2 separate regions of the Homo sapiens genome follow, and region 1 is linked to region 2. The links are contacts of gene promoters, found by promoter capture Hi-C in blood cells and fetal thymus (Javierre and others, 2016). All regions are on one chromosome and are shown on one strand. The core of a region is centred on a gene start or on the middle of the fragment in contact, and the rest is flanking DNA. Distances in the headings are between cores, read along the strand shown. Region 1 overlaps LIPH (lipase H). Region 2 holds the start of TTC14 (tetratricopeptide repeat domain 14).

What was found. The method cuts DNA at HindIII sites, captures the fragments that hold promoters and counts their contacts. A CHiCAGO score of 5 or more calls a contact.
Region 1: a contact is called between a fragment that was not itself captured here and the fragment with the promoter of TTC14 in region 2, in 1 of 17 cell types (naive CD8 T cells). The highest score is 7.3, in naive CD8 T cells.

Annotation. Positions count from the first base shown.
Region 1 is chr3:185,502,987-185,507,701 of GRCh38, reverse strand. It overlaps LIPH (lipase H), which reads left to right. Exons shown (of 10, transcript NM_139248.3): 10 at 1-1,440. It overlaps TMEM41A-DT (TMEM41A divergent transcript), which reads right to left. Exons shown (of 3, transcript XR_924792.3): 2 at 4,119-4,258; 3 at 2,958-3,439. Among named protein-coding and RNA genes, the nearest start is that of TMEM41A-DT, 6.2 kb to the right of the region's middle. The HindIII fragment of the contact is 5,838 bases long and covers 1-4,715 here.
Region 2 is chr3:180,599,111-180,603,957 of GRCh38, reverse strand. TTC14 (tetratricopeptide repeat domain 14) reads right to left here and starts at 1,795. Exons shown (of 12, transcript NM_133462.4): 1 at 1,536-1,795; 2 at 943-1,067; 3 at 635-834. The coding sequence starts at 1,696. TTC14-DT (TTC14 divergent transcript) reads left to right here and starts at 1,845. Exons shown (of 3, transcript NR_183700.1): 1 at 1,845-2,055. RefSeq lists an enhancer at 1,715-2,004. The HindIII fragment of the contact is 2,365 bases long and covers 1-2,139 here.

The DNA.
Region 1 (4,715 bases), core at 648-3,147, 4.9 Mb before region 2:
GAACCGGTTTGCTTTTGGAGAATCTGAAGACTCCAGTTTGAGGAATCCTTTGCTTCCCTGGAGGTAGATGCTGTCTGCAAATCTAGAATGACAGCAGGAGTCCAGTCAAGAGGTCCTGTCAGGCCAAGGCCAGAAAGAAGGGAGGACAATCCCTGGGGCCAGATGCCCAGTGTGAGGGGAGGCATGATCTGTCCCATGGCTGTGGCCACTGCAGGAAGGTCTGTGAAAAGGAGGTGACAGGCCCAGTCACCTCCTCTTCACCCAAGTGATTGCTCCTTCAACTGCTATCTGTGAAAATAGCCTTTGTTATGAAGAAATTGACTCTCTCTCTCTTTTTTTTTTTTTGGAGTTGCCTAGGCTGGAGTGCAATGGTACGATCTCAGCTCACTGCAACCTCCACCTCCCAGGTTCAATTGATTCTCCTGCCTCAGCCTCCTGAGTAGCTGGGATTACAGGCATGTGCCACCACACCCGGCTAATTTTTGTATTTTTATTAGAGACAGGGTTTCACCACGTTAGCCAGGCTCGTCTCGAACTCCTGTCCTCAGGTGACTACCCGTCTCGGCCTCCCAAAGTGCTGGGATTACAGGCATGAGCCACCACACCCGGCCAAAAATGGATTCTCTATGTCATAAATTAAAGAAATCTATAAATGTATTCCTGTGTGGCACATCTTCTTACAGATTTACATTTGCAGCAAATACAGAGTCTGTTTTATTTAAGTGAGGGATGACTGAACTCTGAGTGGAACAAGCTCTTGGACATGTTACCATCCTTCCTCCTCCTTCTCACATTTCCTCAGCAATTGTGGATAGAGAGATCAGTGTGCTGTAGGCCCTGGTTTTTTTTTTTTTTTTTTTTTTTTTTTTTTAGATGGAGTCTCCTTCTGTTACCCAGGCTGGAGTGCAGTGGCACGATCTTGGCTCACTGCAACCTCTGCCTCCCGGGTTCAAGCAATTCTCTGCCTCAGCCTCCCAAGTAGCTGGGATTACAGGCGCCCCCACCATGCCTGGCTAATTTTTGTATTTTTAGTAGAGACCTGGTTTCACCATCTTGGCCTTGAACTCCTGACCTTGTGATCCACTGGCCTTGGCCTCTCAAAGTTCTGGGATTACAGGTGTGAGCCATCGTACCCGGCAGCCCTGGTTTCTTCTTAGTTTTATTGGTCTGTGTTTTGATCAGCACAGTCACTTTTTTGTTCTCTTTCCTGGTAAGCAGGGAGTCAAAACAATAGCAAGAAAATGCCAGAAATAGAATTTCTACTACTTTGTAAACTCTAGGCTCGTGGGTCTCCTAGCTCTCAGTACCTGGCTCACTGTAGGATGGGTAGATGGGTGAATGAATGGATAAAGAAAGGAAGTTTGTTCACCGGAGAGGAGATGAATTTCAGTAAGTTTCATGTAACAGTGATCAGGAGAAATAAAGGCAGTTATAACTGTGGCCACTCTGTTCTCAGAATCTTTCTTCCAAGGGCCCCTGGAACTTTTGACTGTCTCTTGTTATCCTTGCTTCTCTTCCCCTCTCTTTCTCAGTACCATATATCTGTCTGAGTGCCAAATTCAAAGCACAATTAAATTACAGTCTACCCTCTTCCCTCCCCTCTTCACTGGTGACCTCCTACTCATCATTTGGATCGTGGCTCAATTGCCACCTCCTCAGGGAGTCTTCTTGGACCTTATTTCCATACAGAGAGGTTCCACACTGTACCTCTCCTTCATAGCACTTTTTAGTTGTATTTTTAAACATTTTTTCTTTTTTTTGAGACGGAATCTCACTCTGTCACCTAGGCTGGAGTGCAGTGGTGCAATCCTGGCTCACTGTAACCTCTGCCTCCTGGGTTCCAATGTTTCTCATGCCTCAGCCTCCCAAGTAGGTGGAACTACAGGCCAGTGCCACCATGCCCAGCTAATTTTTGTATTTTTAGTAGAGACGGGGTTTCACCATATTGGCCAGGCTGATGTCAAACTCCTGACCTCAAGTGATCTGCCTGCTTCGGTCTCCCAAAGTGCTGGGATTACAGGCGTGAGCCACCGCACCCAGCCTGTTTTTTTTATTTTATTTGCCTGATTATTTGATAAATATCTGTCTTCTCCACTAGACTGCTCTGCAAGGCAGGAGCCATGTGCTTACCATATAGTCTGCTTTCAGGAAACATTTATTAAATGAACACTCTTTGTTATTTTCTGAGCCCCATGGAACCATGTTCAGTTGTGAGTAAAGACTTGCCCTCCACCCTAGCCATAGTCTGTTTCCATGAGGGTGCCTAACCTTCTGTGCCTTAGACTTTTCTCCCAGACACCTTCATTACTATTGTCTCCATTATCTTTGGAGGCCAATAGCCCATTTCCCAGACTTCCTGGAAAAGAGAGAAGTTGGCTCCTTTGTCACTTTTTTTTTTTTTTGAGATGGAGTCTTGCTCTGTTGCCCAGCTGGAGTGCAGTGACCTGATCTCAGTTCACTGCAACCTCCACCTCATGGGTTCAAGCTATTCTGCCTCAGCCTCCCGAGTAGCTGGGCTTGCAGGCACATGCCACCATGCCCAGCTAATTTTTGTATTTTTAGTAGAGACAGGGTTTCACCATGTTGGCCAGGCTGGTCTCAAACTCCTGAACTCCGGAGATCTGCCTGCCTTGGCCTCCCAAAGTGCTGGGATTATAGGTGTGAGCCACTACACCCTGCCCCTTTGTCACTTCTTATCACATCTTCCAGGTGGTCCCAACACCTCACAAGCTCACCTGTCGAAAATCTAGGGGATTTTGTCCTTACATCCTCATTTTAGCACCATTGCCAAAATGCTCCAGGACCTTACAACATTAGTGGAGGATGCCAAGCTGTAGTTATAACCCTCCCTTGTTTGCTTTTCCATGACTCTCCTTTCCACCACTCACTTTGCTGCCAACTTCGTATGTTGTATTAGTCCCTTCTCAGGCTGCTATGAAGAAATACCCAAGACTGGGTAATTTATAAAGGAAAGAGATTTAATTGACTCACAGTTCCACATGGCTGAGGAGGCCTCAGGAAACTTACAATCGTGATGGAAGGGAAACCAAACACATCCTTCTTTACATGGTGGCAGGAGAGAGAAGAATGAGAGCTGAGTGAAGGGGGAAGCCCCTTATAAAACCATCAGATCTCATGAGAACTCACTATCACGAGAATAACATGGGGGAAACTACCCTTATGATTCAATTACCTCCGACTGGGCCCCTCCCACCACAAGTGGGGATTATGGGAACTACAATTCAGGATGAGATTTGGTGGGGCCACAGTCAAACCATATCATACGTGCTTCTGTCACTGCTGTTACGCTGTGTTGTAATTTGTTTCCGTGTCTTTAACTCCTCCAAGACTGTGACCTCCACAAGAGCAGCTGCTATTTATTTTTGGCTCTCTAGCACCTAGCACAATGCTAGGCACAGAGTAGGTGCTTGATAAATGTCTGTTGGACAGAATGGAATGGATGATGCTTAGAAACTTGAGGGAATCACCTCCATTCTGACTTAGACATCAACACACTTAACAATGTTATTTCTAAAGTCCTAAACTTAGAACCTCCTACCCTTGGGCTCCTGCCCCTTGCTCTCATTCCTATAGAACTCCATTATAGCCAAGGAGACTTTGGATGCAAGGGACAGGAATCCACTCACACCCCAATTTAATAGGTTATTGAGAGAGAGAGAGAGGACTTGTGGAAACCCAGGAAGAGGTGATCCACCAAATCTCAGGAAGGGCAGGGATGGGGCAGCCCTAGAGCCTTCAGCAACAAGAGTTCGTGGGCCTTTATTAACCCTAGTGCTCTGCCATGAATCTCTTTGACTGAGCTCAGCTCCCTTCATGGGGCAGCCTCATTGGGTTCTTGGCCACTCACTGACTAGGTGGCCCAATTCCAAAGTCCAGGGACAGGAAACAGCCCTTGGCTCCTCCTCCTGAGGAAGACATCTATCCAGTTCCAATCAGTCATGGTTGGGGTGGGGGTGGGGAAGCAAAATCACATGGACTTCAGAGCTATTCTTTTCAAGTGCTCTAGGCAAGTCTGATTAAGCCAGAAAAGGTTGGCTGCTCTTCACAAAGAGGCACAGTAAATGCCAGGCTAACTCACTCCCACAGGAACGTCTTACCTGTTCTTTTCTCCCACCTGTTTCCCAATCCAGCATGTGCCTGGGAAAGGACTGCAGTTGACAGAGGATTGCAGCTGTCCTTTGTCAGACTGTGTGGGCCTGTGCTGTAAATGAGTGGCCTCGATGGGGGCTGCTGCAGCCTGCGGGAGGTGCACTGGGTGGTTAGAGTCAGCTCTGCAGGTACTGGGTTGGGGGCCAGGAGGGTTGGGAATACTGAGATTGGGGAAACACAGTCCAGGGCTTCTTCCCTAGGCAGACAGGTTGAGCGAGAAGAATGACAACATGAGTCCAGGGGGCAGGTCAGAGGAAGCAAGCAGATGCTCCAGTTGTGAGCCTGTAGCAAAGAAGGTTAGCACCACCAAAAATAGCTCCATCAAAGGTCCCTTATCGCCTCGTGTTGGCCAATTGCCATGACCCTCAGGTTTCCCTGCTGGGTTTCTCCATGGACTCTGACACTTGCCCCAGTTCCTTTCCTAACAGTCTTTCTTGGGCTCTCAGGACATTTCTTTTTTTCTGTTTCTCATCTCACAAATGAAACAGTGCATCTTGTTCTCTTTCACTGTTTCCACCATTTCCTTACCAGGCTCCTGATTTCAG
Region 2 (4,847 bases), core at 546-3,045:
AAAAACAAACTAAAATTTGTCTAAAAGGTATAAGGATTCCAGTGAAAATGAAATGCCAATTCTCCAAAGTATTTTGTCTGTTATCCAATCTGTAATACCTTCTGCTTTTCTTCCTTTTTATCTGCCTGGATAGATGGCAAATACCCAATCTTTTATCGTGACACATTAGTTTAAATTCAGGACTATCCATCTTGGGCAAAGTATCTTAATATAATGTACAAACCACTTACATTTAATTATTGTAAATATATAAATGAAACTTCTCTCCAAATTATCCACATGAAAATATACAATGCCAAATATTAACTAATTAAGAATACATATGTTCAACTACAAGAAATAAGTCTGAATATCAATCAACCTCACCACGTCCACTGATACCTCTTTGAGCATTTAGAAAAGAACACTGTGCCTGCCAACCAGTTTAAATTTAAAAAATCCCAAAAACCAGAAATGGAGGGAGAAACTGGGTAACTTACACTAATTTTTTTAAACTATTTTTCTCCAATTAACATTTAATTTCCAAAAGCATCTTGGCAGGTATACTTGAGCACAACTGCATGCAAAGATATAGTTCTTGCATTGAGATGCGTTAACAAAAACAGAAGCAATCCAAGTAACAAAAATAACTTACTGTGATTTCTAAGTGGGCTATATCTCTCATGATACCACTTCCTAAACAGATCAACACCATGAAAAAACCGAATTCCCGAATAGAACTAATTCTTCCAATCACTATATCACCACGCTCAATATCTCGGAAAAACAGCTCTCTCCGATCCATACTAGGTATCTCCATGAATTGCTCTAAAGGTGGCATGATTGCATAATGATCTAAAAAAAAAAAATTAACAAAATCACTAACGATAGTTTTGAGTTCCGTTTCACCTGAAGTACTGTTAAACCGAACCGCAATCTTAAAGATTTTAAGGCTAAACTGACCTTCACTGTCTTCATTAATTTCAGAAGTTGCAGGTGCATCTGATTTCCAGGAAAGTGCAAAAAGCAGATCCGCTTTTTTGGAGATGAATTTCTGTATCTCGATGTTGTCAACTCTCTTCTCTTTTCTTAAAAAGAAAAAAATATATATGAAAATTGGGTTATCTGCAAAGCCTCTTTACTTCTAACCTTCTGCTTATGGCTTTCATCGCCCATTCCGCTCCATCCTAAGCTGCAGACAATACAACCTCAGACAAAAAGTTTTAACTAGGCATTCCCTCATTAACCAACCTGGAGGTGGAGAGCGGGGAAACTTAAAAAGTGACGCCTCCAACTCAGATAGGAAAGCTCAAGGGATTTTTAGCTAAGGAATCTGCGCCTCTACCAAGCAGTGCCAGAGAAAAAGTTCAGCCCGCATCCCGCATTGCACAACCCAGGAGCGCCCCCCGTCCACCCAGCCCAAGACACCAGCGCGCGATCGTCCTGTGCTCACGGCCGCGGCTCCACTTCCTCTAGACGCAAACCCGGGGCTGCGGTAGTGGCTGCCAGAGCTGCGTCCCCTCTTCCGTGGCGCAGTGGCACCAACGTCTCATTACCTGCCCTGCAACGGGTGCTGGGGCGGCGGGCCCCGGGCTGGCTCGGCGGCCGACCCCAGGAGGCTACGGAAGTGTGGATTGTCCTGCTGTTCGCTCCGAAGTAGAGAGAGCAAAGACGACCCGTGGCAATTTAGCGACTGCCGCAAAAGGTCCCGGTCCATGGCTAGAGAATGCAGGGCCCGGAGGCCGACGGGCTGATAGTTCCCTGTTCCGTGTCCGCTACTTGAGCCGGGTGGTACAGGAAGCGGAAGAAACTGTCTGGAGGCTGCCGGAAGTACACAGACAGCACAACCAGTTACACCCGGAAGTGTTCTGGGGTCGCCCCCACGGCGGCGCGGCGGAGCTCAGCCTCGATCTCGCGAAACCGAGCGAGACTACGGAAGGCCGAAGGATTGGGCTCAGCATTGCTTGGGCTAAAGGCTGACTAGGGCTTCCAGGAAGTGATGTATGTGAGAAGTTTGCTTTTTAAAGTGTACGTGGGATCGTTATTACGTCGAAATAGCTCGAGCTGTAACCTAGGGTAAATAATAATTCCTTTTCGTATTCATCAAGGTGCTTCTAAGTGCCAGTGCCAGGGTAAGAACCCTATACGAGTCTCCAAGCTTCTTCCCTCGACGTACTCTCTGCGTAAATCAATACCTGTGTCTCTGGCGTAACCCCATTCAACCGGCTGCTCCGGGAAGGTTTCCAGGTGGTTTTAAGGGCAGAAGAAAGGAAGGACACGGACATTTGTTAAGCACCTGGAGTGGTGTTCTCCATCCATACCCCATTTACTGTTAGTGATTGTGAATTCTAAAACCAGGATGGCTTTAATGTCTCCACACGTGCATATGCCATTCAAGTTTTACAATAACTAATGAACACATGCATTTCTTATTTAGTTTATCTCAATGGTTGCTCAAAATTTAGTGTCTGTGGGACTTACTGTATAGTGGTATGTACGCAAAAGTCAATATACTGTTCTTATGGACAATTCAAGTGATTTTCAAAGGGAATTTCAACTTAGGTCCCCCATCCCCTTACTTACTGACTTGAGAACCTAACCACTATGGTAGCTATTGTACTTTTTCATTTTAGAAAACGAGGAAACATGCTCAGAGAGTCCCAGTAAATTGCTCAATGGCACACAGCTAGTAAGAGGCTAGAGTTAGGATTCCAAACGAAGTATTAATTGGTCTTCTCAGGCAGAGTTGCTGGATTGAGTATTTTATCATATGGAAGGTCTAACTAACCCTAATTTTGAGATCATGTAGCTTCGTTTTATTCCAGTATAAAATTTGTACCATTTAAATATGTTCAGTGTAAATAGTTCAGTATAGTCCTCTTGAACAGAAATAAACGGTGACAGTTAGTCTCTCCACTTCCCACCATGTGTCTTTGAGGAAATCAACTTGCCTTTCACTGTGTTACCACTTTTGTATAGGAGATCTAGCCCAGAACATAATCGATACTGCCACACTGTTTTGTGGAAAACCCAGGCAAATAGGTAAACAGTTTGAGACTTGAGAAAATGCAACAAACAAGAATGCAACTGTAAAAGATAAATTTGGGTTAGGCACGGTGGCTCACACCTGTAATCCCAGTACTTTGGGAGGCCGAGGGTGGATCACTTGAGGTCAGGAGTTCAGAGACCAGCTTGGCCACCATGGCCTAACCCCGTCTCTACTAAAAATACAAAAATTAGCCGAGCGTGGTGGCTCATGCCTGTAGTCCCAGCTACTCGGGAGGCTGAGGCACGAGAATCTCTTGAACTCCGGAGGCGGGGGTTGTAATGAACTGAGATCGCGCCACGGCAGTCCAGCTTGGGCGCCGGAGGGAGACTCCGTCTCAATAAATAAATAAATAAATAAATTTCAAGCTTCTATAGGCATATCAACTTTAATAAATGGTACAGACTGACTTGTTTTAAGCCATAACTCTAGAGAATGGTTGTTTTTAGGAAAGAGTGCTGTCACTGAAAAGGAAAGCTGACCACTAAAAATTATTATAGACATCTTGATAAGTATGTGATTTGTGTTAGAGTCAATCTGTGATCAAGGACCTCATTTTTTGGAGGGACTAAGAAACCGGTGTCTGAGAACCAGACACCAAATAGTGTTACTTAGCCTGGGAATGTCACCTTCTGAGGCCATTCTTCAGTAGCACATGGTTTTATCACTATGGGATCTGTCTATACTTCTTCCTAATTCCAACACTAGGATAACCCTCCCCCACCTCATACCTTGAACATCTGAAATGGCCGTGAACATAGAAAGCAGCTCCTTTTAGGGGGTAAACAGCATTTATCAAGAGTGATATTTTTCGTATAGTAGTGACAGAAGAAATGCACTTTAAGCAAATGTACTCAAAACTCAGCGTGGGATTTTCTGTCTTTGGTTAGTTCCTTATGTGAAAGTAGCCACATTAGTTGGGTGCCGAAGGCAGTCTTATTCTTTACTTCCGGAATACTACTCCCATTGCAGAGGATAAAGCCTTTTACAATTACAGGTGTATTTGAGTTCATTTTCTTTTGAGACAGACACCCCTTTGACTTTGAAGGGGACAGGGCACTGGATCTTTGACATGGGATTGGAGGGAGTGAGGAAAGGAAATGGGACTAGGTTTGCTTCTCATTTTAGAAAAACTAGTCCCACATGTGGGGCCTCTCAAGTGGGCGACGAAGAAAATACTGTTTTTCTTTTTTACTTCTTGCCTTACCTTAAAAAAATCTTTTTCGAGAAACTTTTCCAGATTAAGCAACATAAATAACTAAATGAATATGTTGAGGAGAGGGACAGGGGAAAGTGTGGGATGGGGTTGGGGGAAGAAGGCAGGACATCTAAAGCAGTCAGATCTTTGATGTCTGGTTCCTGTGCCTATTTTTATTGTAAATGTTAAATTCAATTTCTAAATAAACACATATGTACATTATTTAATAAACACTCTAGACCCTAGAGATATAAAGGTGAAGAAAATAACTCTGGTTCTTGAGTGGCTCACAGTGCAACACAGGATTAGACATAAGAAGAAACAAATATGGCACAGTGGTAAGTGCTATTGTGGACACCTACTAGGGTGTCTGCATAGATTCCTCTTCTCTGTGAAGTGAGGTAGTGGGAGTTGCTGGGGGTAAGAGGAGAGAGGGGGAGGCAACTATGTGCAGTCCAGGCACAGAGGGCAATATGATTAAAGAAGTAGAGGTGTGAAAAAGCAAGATACATTCTGGAGACAGCAAGTGTGAAATGGAGGTAGGTAGGGATATTTTAATTATAGACATTTGGTTATGTAAGCGTGTCATTTCAGGTAGGCTATAGATTGGTGGGAAGAAACCCC